2 separate regions of the Homo sapiens genome follow, and region 2 is linked to region 1. The links are contacts of gene promoters, found by promoter capture Hi-C in blood cells and fetal thymus (Javierre and others, 2016). All regions are on one chromosome and are shown on one strand. Each heading gives the region's core, a stretch centred on a gene start or on the middle of the fragment in contact. The rest is flanking DNA. Distances are from core to core; before and after follow the strand shown. Region 1 holds the start of CLEC18B (C-type lectin domain family 18 member B). Region 2 overlaps PMFBP1 (polyamine modulated factor 1 binding protein 1).

Region 1 (4,648 bases), core at 630-3,129:
TCCACCCTAATCCCCAAAATATCTTTTTCTCCCGCCTGTCCCAAGTGCCTGGCATCATACTATATGGGTCAACTGGCCGTGTTTGCCATGGAAGCCCAATTGTAGGAAGTGGGTCTTTTATCACCCGGCATAGCAGAGCTGTGGAAACTGCACTGGGAAAGATCAGGATGTGAATTAAAGCGTTGGGAATGGGAAGGCAGAGACCTTGGATTAGCTGGGATGCTCCATGCACTCGCTGAGTGACCTTGGACAAGCCCCTTAGACACACTAAGCCCGTTTCCTCATCTACACGACGGGCATCCCATCTGCTACTGCACCAGGTTCTTGTGGCAATAACTTGAACTCACACATGCAAACAGGCTTTGTGAGCTCCATAAACACAGGTGGCTCGGCCAGGTGTGGTGGCTCATGCCTGCAACCCCAGCACTTTGGGAGGCCAAGGTGGGAAGATCCCTTGAGCCCAGGAGTTGGAGACCAGCCTGGGCAAGACGATGAAATCCTGTCTCTACCAAAAAAAATAATAATAATTAGCCAGGCATGGTGGCACACACCTGGTCCCAGCTACTTGGGAGGCTGAGGTGGAAGGATCACTTGGGCCCAAGAGGTCAAGGCTGCAGTGAGCTGAGATTATAACACTCCAACCTGAGTGGCAGAATGAAACTGTCTAAAAAATAAAAATAAAAATACATCAAAAAACAGGTAGCTATTAAGCATTGCTAGGACCCACACGCAGTGACCCTGAGGGTGCTGGGTTTCTGTTTGAGGGAGAAGAAACTCCTGAGCCCCTAGGTATTGTGGGGGACATGCAGTTCCAGACCGCCTTCATGGCCTGTATGCCTGGCCTCATCCCCATCCCTGGCACCCATGACGATAGCCACATTCCACTGGTGTTTCCCCAGGAAAGCCAACCCTACCTGCATCTCAGCAGAGCTTCCACGGAGTTGGAACCCCGCTCCGAGAGGGTGTGGGCTCAGGGGCCAGGGGTCACACAAACTCCAGAAGGAGGACGTAGTTGGTTTGCAAGGCTGTCCTTTGCCCTGGTTGAATAACCTTCGGTCTGCCCCGAGAGGAACGTGGGCATTAGGCTGCAGCCCGCAGGAAGCCATGTATTTTCTGAGAAACTTGGCCCATGGTGCAGATCTGCTCCAGCTCACTCTGGTGGGATCACGCCAGCCACGGCCGGGCCACGGCACATCATGGCAACGTGCTGCCCACCTGCTACGCCGCCTGTTTTTCTAGAGGCGGACGTGATCCCAGCAGGACTGGAGTCAGCCCAGGGCATCACGTGCTCTGGTCCCCGCCTGCTTTGACTCCTCCTGCCTCACTCCCCCCCTGGCCTGTAGTCACGTGGGTGAGGGTGGTGGGCACCGGGGCTGGGCCCAGCCCCCGACCCTGCCCAGACAGACTTTCCTAAGGCACCCTTTTCCTCGTGCAGGTGCGGCCTCAGCCCACCCCCCTTTGAGCCCACAGATTGCACCCCTCTGGTGTGCGGTTACCTCTTGCCTATGTTTAATTCATGGCTGGGGGGTTGGGACGAGCTTCCCAAGAAAGGAAAGAACTCCCCTGGGGTCTTGCCCAGTTCCTGCTCACCAGAAGGACCATAGCCGAGGTCCTCCTCCCAGGGCCCGGGGCTGGGGAGCGGAAGCCATCAGTGGGCTCGGAGGACACTGTCCCAGCCAGGACACGGCCATCGGTCACTAATCTGCAGCACCGGAATGTCCCCAGGCCAATCAGCGGGGTCTCTGGGGGCTCCCCAAGGGTGCTAATAATCCCACAATGATTAGCAGGGGCCGCGGGGCAGTGCACGCCACTCTGCCTGCTGTCGGGGGCGGGCTGGCCAGGCCGAGGCCGGAGCAGGCAGGCATCCCCGGGAGTTGTCTCTTTTCATGCCAGCGCCAACAGGAGGCTGTCTGGACACACTGATTACTCACTCACCAGCCTCCTTCTTTTGTTCACCAGCCCCCCTCTTTTGTCCACCAGCCCAGCCTGACTCCTGGAGATTGTGAATAGCTCCATCCAGCCTGAGAAACAAGCCGGGTGGCTGAGCCAGGCTGTGCACGGAGCGCCTGACGGGCCCAACAGACCCATGCTGCATCCAGAGACCTCCCCTGGCCGGGGGCATCTCCTGGCTGTGCTCCTGGCCCTCCTTGGCACCACCTGGGCAGAGGTGTGGCCACCCCAGCTGCAGGAGCAGGCTCCGATGGCCGGAGGTAAGGGACACCTGGTGAGGAGGTAGGTGGAGGCACCATTATGAGCTCTGAGGAGTGGGTGCTAGGAGACTTCTGGAAGCCCGGTCCCAGGCCTGAGCCCCAGGCCGTGCGGGTGGTTTAATGAGGAAGCCCTGGGACAGCCCGGGGGCGGTGAGGGGTGGATGCTGGACTGGGGAGGAAGGAGGAGGAAGGAGGAGGAAGGAGGACCAGGGCTGGGGTCAAGGAGGAACGCCGAGGAGCGCTGTGGCTGGGGCCTGGAGAAATCCGTGGCCCGGAGGAGCCCCAGACAGGGGCCTGCGGGAGCCAGGGCTGGCCCCTACACCCAGCCCGCACCGCTGTTCCCTCCCGCCACCCCAACCCCAGCACTCAGCCCACGCCTGCTGTACCTGGTCTCTCTCTCAGCCTCGCTCCATTGCTATGCCCCACGTCCCCTGCACCCACCACACTCCTCTCCCATCTTGTTTTCCAAGGGCAGGGACACATGCTTATTCTGCCGTGTGTTGGGTTCAGGTCCCCCCATCCTCGGGCTGCCTGACCTTCTCTCCCCACCCCAGCCCTGAACAGGAAGGAGAGTTTCTTGCTCCTCTCCCTGCACAACCGCCTGCGCAGCTGGGTCCAGCCCCCTGCGGCTGACATGCGGAGGCTGGTGAGTACCCGACCCAGCTGGGCTCTGCCAGGGGGGTGGCCGGAGGCGCGGACCCCAGAGGGCGGCTCAGGAGGCCACGCCTGTCCAGGTGCCCTTCCACTTGACCAGGGTGGGCAGGCACAGCCAGCCACCTTGCCCCTGAGGGACGGAGGCCCTGGTTGCTGGGGGTCTCTGCAGTTTCTTAACCCCCCACCCTCAGTTCAGGAGGTCGGGCCCCTTGGCTCCCACTCGCCTGAAGGGCAGGACCTTGGGCCTTCCCTGGCATCTTGTTGCCACAGAGACCAGGAGCCACAGGAGGAGCCGGATCCCCTCCTCCAGGGAAGGGGAGCTTCACGAGGAGCCCTGCAGGATGGGCGGCCGGGCCAGGGAGGGAGAAGGTCGTGCTGGGCTGGGGAGGGGCTTCTGTGCGGCAAGGACCCAGCGCCTCCTCCTGAGCTTATCTGAGCCACTAGGACGGGCCTTGCCCATGTTCTCTGCTCACTCACTCGTCCACATTTTCCACATTTTCAGCAGGGGCCAGGGGTCGGGGGTATAGAGTTCCCCACCAGCCCGGCTGGGGCTGCGGGGTTGGGACTGTCATCTGGAGGCTCAGAAACGCTGCCCTCCATTGTCTGGGACCCCAGCAGCCCCAGCCCATGTTAGCAGGCCAGGGAGCCAGGGCAGGGTGGTGGGGGCGGGAGGGTTCCCCATGGCTGCTTCCCATGAACTCCTCCAAGGCAGGTGGCCACAGTGGCGACCTTGAACACTCTAGGGTCAGTTTCCCAGGAGGTGGGGGTGGGGTGGCTAAATGCGGGGGGTCGCTTCTCCCCCATTCCCAGCCCTGAGTGGCTCTGCCTCTCCTCAGGCTCAGACCCTGGGCAACCAGGGGTGCTCCCAGCTGTGACCTCCGTGGTTGGGTACTCCTGCCTGGGACCCCAGGAGGGGCTGCGGTGGTCGTTGGCTGGCAGCTGGCACCCTTTCCAGGGCCCTTTTGTCAAAGTCTTAGAAAACTTCATTTCCATAAAGGTGCAAATGGAGCTCCATGGCTCAGCCTCCCTCGTGGCCCGGCCCCGAGCACCCTCCGGGCCTCTAGGGCTCCAGGGCACCCCTTCTTTGGACACAGTGGAGACTGAAGGTCTTGTGGGGGTGGAGGGCTGCTGAGGGACCCCGGGGAGCCCCCAGCTCCTGGCCCCAGCCTTCATCAGAGGTAAAACCCCGATGGACATTAGTGCAGGATGAAGTTGGCTTGGGGTGCAGCCCCGAGGGGCCCCCCTCCCTGCATCCACTCTGTGCTTGTGAGTCCTATCCTGCAGGCACCTCCCTGCTCCGTTTACAGATGAGCTCAGGGAGTCTCGGGAGATCAGGGGACTGCACCAAGTCACCCAGGGGTGGTGATTGCCAGGCCCCTTGTTTAAGAAGAGGGAGGGGGCTGGGCACGGTGGCTCACACCTGTAATCCCAGCACTCTGGGAGGCTGACACAAGCAGATCACCTAAGGTCAGCAGTTTGACACCAGCAATGGCCAACATGGTGAAACCCCGTCTCTACTAAAAATACAAAAATTAGCCAGGTGTGGTGTCACATGGCTGTAATCCCAGCTGCTTGGGAGGCTGAGGCAGGAGAATTGCTTGAACCTGGGAGGCGGAGGTTGCAGTAAGCCGGGATTTCTCCACTGCACTCCAGCCTGGGCGACAGGGTGAGACTCTGTCTCAAAAAAAAAAAAGAAGAGGGAGGGGGCGGGGTCAGCTGTGCGTGGTGGGGAGCATATGAGGCCAGGCTCCTGGGGGCAGGAGACTAGGGCAGAGAGGTGTGGC
Region 2 (4,515 bases), core at 1,071-3,570, 2.3 Mb after region 1:
TTCCAGAAAGTTGGAGGAAGAAAATGAGAATCTCCGAGCAGAGCTACAGTGTTGTTCTACACAACTGGAATCCTCTCTCAACAAATACAACACCAGCCAGCAAGTCATCCAAGACTTGAATAAAGAGGTGAGTAGACAGGAACCCCAAGGGAGTGAGGAATTTGAACCCTGTGACCCTTGACCTGAAATCTGTACCCACCTCTCCTCCACACAGAAATGCAGCTAACTGCTCAGCCAACTGCGGATCCTGGGCCACCTACAGCTCTACTTCCCTCCCCATTGGCACCTGGTTGCTGAGCCAGAGAAATGTTTCTTCCATATGTGGAAGGTCTCATCTCATATCTGGTGGAGCCCCAAGCTATTTGGGCTTTGGCATCAAGTCTTCCAATGTTACATTTTAGACCAGAGTTGAGTGAATCCATTTTGGGGGGCAATTTGCTAGGGAACACTTCCAAAACTTGTCACAAAGCACAAAAAGGAGATGAAAGGGGGGACAGTTATTTTTCATTACACAAGTAAAAATGACAGAAAGGAGTAAATAGCATCTGACATATGCTAAGCACTGTGCTTGAATTCAGTCGTCATTTATTTGTCGTCCACTTAAGCTCTTTACATGGCTTCCATCTGCTTTACTGCCAAAAAGAAAGACATGATAGAGGAAAGAAAGATGGAGGGCCAAAGTCACTGACCAGCAAGTGATGGAATCAACCACTATTTGAACCTGAATTATCCAGCTCTAACACCTGTTCCCTTTCTCCCTCATCATAAGCAGCCATACTTTCTCCAGCTAAATCCATTCCATCTTTCTGGGCAAGAGAAAAATATAACACCTTGGTAGTTGGTCTCTTGGGCTACAAATGAAAGGCCAAGCAGCCCTTATTCCCTCATAATATAAAAATAAATCTTAAAGTAGTATGACTTTTCTAAGTATAAAAATAGCACTGCCCAGTAGAACTTGCTGCCTTTCTGTGATGATGGAAAAGTTGTATGTCTGAGCTGATGGAATGAATGTGAGAGAAAGTGAGGAATCAATGATGACTTCATGAAATTCACCTATAAAACCATCTAGACCTAATACCATTGACAGCAGAGAGAGTAGGTCTTTTATTAGAACTTTTACTAGAACTTCTTGGTTCTATAATTTACATACTTCTATATGTAGATTTTTAGAATCTTTCTCCAAGCTAAACCACTCATGTTAGCAAAAATTTTTAAAGCTTCCATTTTAGCTTCTAGCTTCACTGTAATTTTTTTTCACCATCCTCAGTTTTAGTGTCTTACCTCTATACTGACATTTCTCAGTTCAGCCATCATTTATCAAGCATTGACAGTGAATTATAGTTTCTCCAGTGATTCCTCTGGTTTACTGGGCAGACCCTGCTGACTCCATGTTTTTCAGAAGTCCCCAGAAAAGATGCACTTCTGTTTTCAGAAGACCAAATTATTTCATCTTTAGGAATAGTTTCACCACCAGGGCATGTAAAATATGGTGTCAGAAGTCCAATTTACCACTTTTCATCTCACTAATTCCCAGGGCCAGAGGTACTCAAAATTGTATCTGAAAAAGTAATAAACTTGAAGCACTGATCAGTTACTGGAGATAAAACAAGAAAACCCAAAAGAATGTGTTTCTGTGTGCATGGCCACTTTCAGATGCAGGTGTGCTAGAATACCAAAGAATACAAGTCAGGCATATGAATTTCTGAGGTCTCCCTCTGGCTTCCAGACTCAGAAGCAGATCTCTGTCCTGTACTTAAAGTATATAAGAAGGCTAGTTTCTGTGTGTGTCTGTGACAGTAACTCATAGTCGTATAGTAAAACAAAGCCCTTTTTACACATATCACCTCATTTGATCATCATAAAAACTCCACGAAACAGTTAAAATGATTTCAATTTGTGGAAGCAGAAACTGAGGCTAGAGAAATAAGTAAATGATAGAACCTGGACCTCAACCCAGATTTTTCTGACTCCAGATCCCAACTTCCTTTTAACTATACCATGAATACTCATTACGATGTTGAAAACAGACTTCAGTTTTTAAACACACTTCTACCAGAACTACATGTTCCCTAACATGTTGATCAATTGATCCCTAACTCCAAAAATGCAATATTTCACGTGACAGAACAAAGACCATTTTTGAGCATTTCCTGAAACTCTGTCATGTGCCATGCCCTGAGTTACAGCAATGGGGAAACAGCAGGAAACAAAACACAGGCACAGTCCTGCTTTCTGGCACATCAAGTCTAGTGAATTACATCAGGAACTAAGTGAGGCATAAAACACAAAGGACATGTTGTTATCATGTCCACTAACCTCAAATCGGATTCCAGGTCTTTATCAAAGGCTGCAGAGTATGTGAAAGGGACTTTTTTGTGTACTTGGCATATCATGCCCCAGCACCGCTGGTACTCCTGCTGTTTGAGGGAAATGCTAACTAGAAAGAGAGATGTGGCTGAGGGGTGCAAAAGAGCCTGGAAAGACAGCTCTACCTTTTACAGTGGTGAAGTGAAGATGTGAGTGTTAACACGGACTCTGCAGGTTGCTGCAGACAGGAGAGAGCTTGGCTCTTGTTCATTTCCTATAGGCACAGAGAATGCCTCTATGACCCTGACCTGGCACCCTGACAGTTCTGCTCTCCCTCCTTAAAGATAGCCCTTCAGAAGGAGTCCTTAATGAGCCTGCAGGCCCAGCTGGACAAAGCTCTGCAGAAGGAGAAGCACTATCTCCAGACTACCATCACCAAAGAAGCCTATGATGCATTATCCCGGAAGTCAGCCGCCTGCCAGGATGACCTGACACAAGCCCTCGAGAAGGTGAGGCCACACCCTCTAGTCTCCAGGGCTGTTTTCAGGCAAGGAAACGTCAAGGTAGCGGGAGAAGCACAGGAGCCAATTTCCTGCCTATTGACTGTCAATGGGGCCATCTCAAACCCTTGTGTGGGCTGGGATGTCTGTGCAGAGAAGGCCTGCTTCCTCTTTGTGAGGCTTGGAGTTGGGTGGAGGGCGGAGGAAGAGGACAAAGATCAAAACCAAATCTAGCAAGCCTTTCTGCCCATGGGTGACTCGGGGGCAAGGTTTTCCCAAAGTCTGGATTGTCAGGGAAATTCATGCCCCATCCTGTGCTGATCATGGCTGGCCCATCAATTCATGGGATTGGAAAGAGAAGAAATGGAGGGAGTGGGTAGGAAGGAGAAAGCAGGGTGCAGAAAACCAACCACTGTCATTTCCCACCCCTCTCTGGGAGACTAGGCAAGGTGACCGTCCGTGTCACCCTGGGCAGAGGACAGGAAGGGACTGGAACCCTCCTCCATTCAGGACTCAGCAGAGAGGGTCAAAGTCTCTGACAGCCATTCGTCCTCTTTGTCTTTTCCGGAAGCTCAATCACGTGACCTCAGAGACAAAGAGCCTGCAGCAAAGCTTGACACAGACCCAAGAGAAGAAAGCTCAGCTGGAAGAGGAAATCATTGCTTATGAGGAAAGGATGAAAAAGCTCAATACGGAATTAAGAAAACTGCGGGGCTTCCACCAGGAGAGTGAGCTGGAGGTGAGGAGCTGCCAGGGGCTTGGGCTGCCTTCCTGGTAGGGGTCCACAAGGTCACCTCTTGCATCCAGAATTATTTAGCACTAAGTCATTCCCTTGGGCTGCTAGGTTCCCTCCACTTTCTTGGCTCCCTGAACTTCAGACAGAGGCAGCAAAGATCGGAGCATGGGTGCCCTCTGCTGGCCACTGAGAAGAAAATACCCCCAACACGTATCCCAAGGCCCAGGAAGCACCCTCTGGCCTTGTGGGTCCTGCGGTCAGGGAGGCCAGCTGGAGTCCCCCTCCTCACTTTGCTCTCCTGAGTAGGTGCACGCCTTTGACAAGAAGCTAGAGGAGATGAGCTGCCAGGTGCTGCAGTGGCAGAAGCAACACCAGAATGACCTCAAGATGCTGGCAGCCAAAGAGGAGCAGCTCAGGGAGTTCCAGGAGGAGATGGCCGCCTTAAAAGAGAACCTCCTTGAGGACGATAAGGAGGTGGGCATGCCTTGGCTTCTGCGTGCCTCCTCTCAGTGCCTCCAGGCACATCCTATGACCACCCAAATGCCAGACAGCCCTTGGTGGGGGTGGGAGAGCCTGGGAGCAAAGGAAAGGTCACCCCCTCCATTTAGCACAAAGCAAGAGCCACAGCTGCTGGTTCAACCCACCTGTGTTCTTGTGGCTTTGTTGATAGATACTGAGCAGAGCGAAGGCCCCATTCTAGAGAAGAGACTGTCAGGTACACCAGCTACCCCTGACCTAGTCCACTGGGTCCCCTTCCAGAGTACATCCTGACACTTTTGGCAGCCCTGGACCCTACAGTAGAATGGACTAAGTGACCTTCTGGGCTTGTCCCAGGCCCACCTCCCTGAGCAGTGAAGTTCATGGCAGGAGGCCGCAGGACAGCTCAGGTGGCCACTGGGCCTTTGCTCGAATTACAAAGAAGGCATCTTAGGCCGGGCACAGTGGCTCATGCCTGCAGTCCCTACACTTTGG

What was found. Contacts are between HindIII fragments. The CHiCAGO score rates a contact against its expected background, and 5 or more counts as called.
Region 2: a fragment that was not itself captured here is called in contact with the fragment with the promoter of CLEC18B in region 1 in 1 of 17 cell types (naive CD8 T cells); the score reaches 6.5 in naive CD8 T cells.

What each region holds. Positions count from the first base shown.
Region 1 is chr16:74,418,709-74,423,356 of GRCh38, reverse strand. It overlaps CLEC18B (C-type lectin domain family 18 member B), which reads left to right and starts at 1,879. Exons shown (of 12, transcript NM_001385193.1): 1 at 1,879-2,210; 2 at 2,765-2,856. The coding sequence starts at 2,087. It overlaps LOC107984827 (a long non-coding RNA gene), which reads right to left and starts at 1,237. Exons shown (of 3, transcript XR_001752253.3): 1 at 915-1,237. The HindIII fragment of the contact is 28,054 bases long and covers 1-4,648 here.
Region 2 is chr16:72,124,269-72,128,783 of GRCh38, reverse strand. It overlaps PMFBP1 (polyamine modulated factor 1 binding protein 1), which reads left to right. Exons shown (of 21, transcript NM_031293.3): 14 at 1-127; 15 at 2,652-2,816; 16 at 3,379-3,546; 17 at 3,850-4,017. Among named protein-coding and RNA genes, the nearest start is that of DHX38, 33 kb to the right of the region's middle. RefSeq lists enhancers at 1-390, 2,727-3,228, 3,773-3,832, 3,843-3,952. The HindIII fragment of the contact is 2,202 bases long and covers 1,220-3,421 here.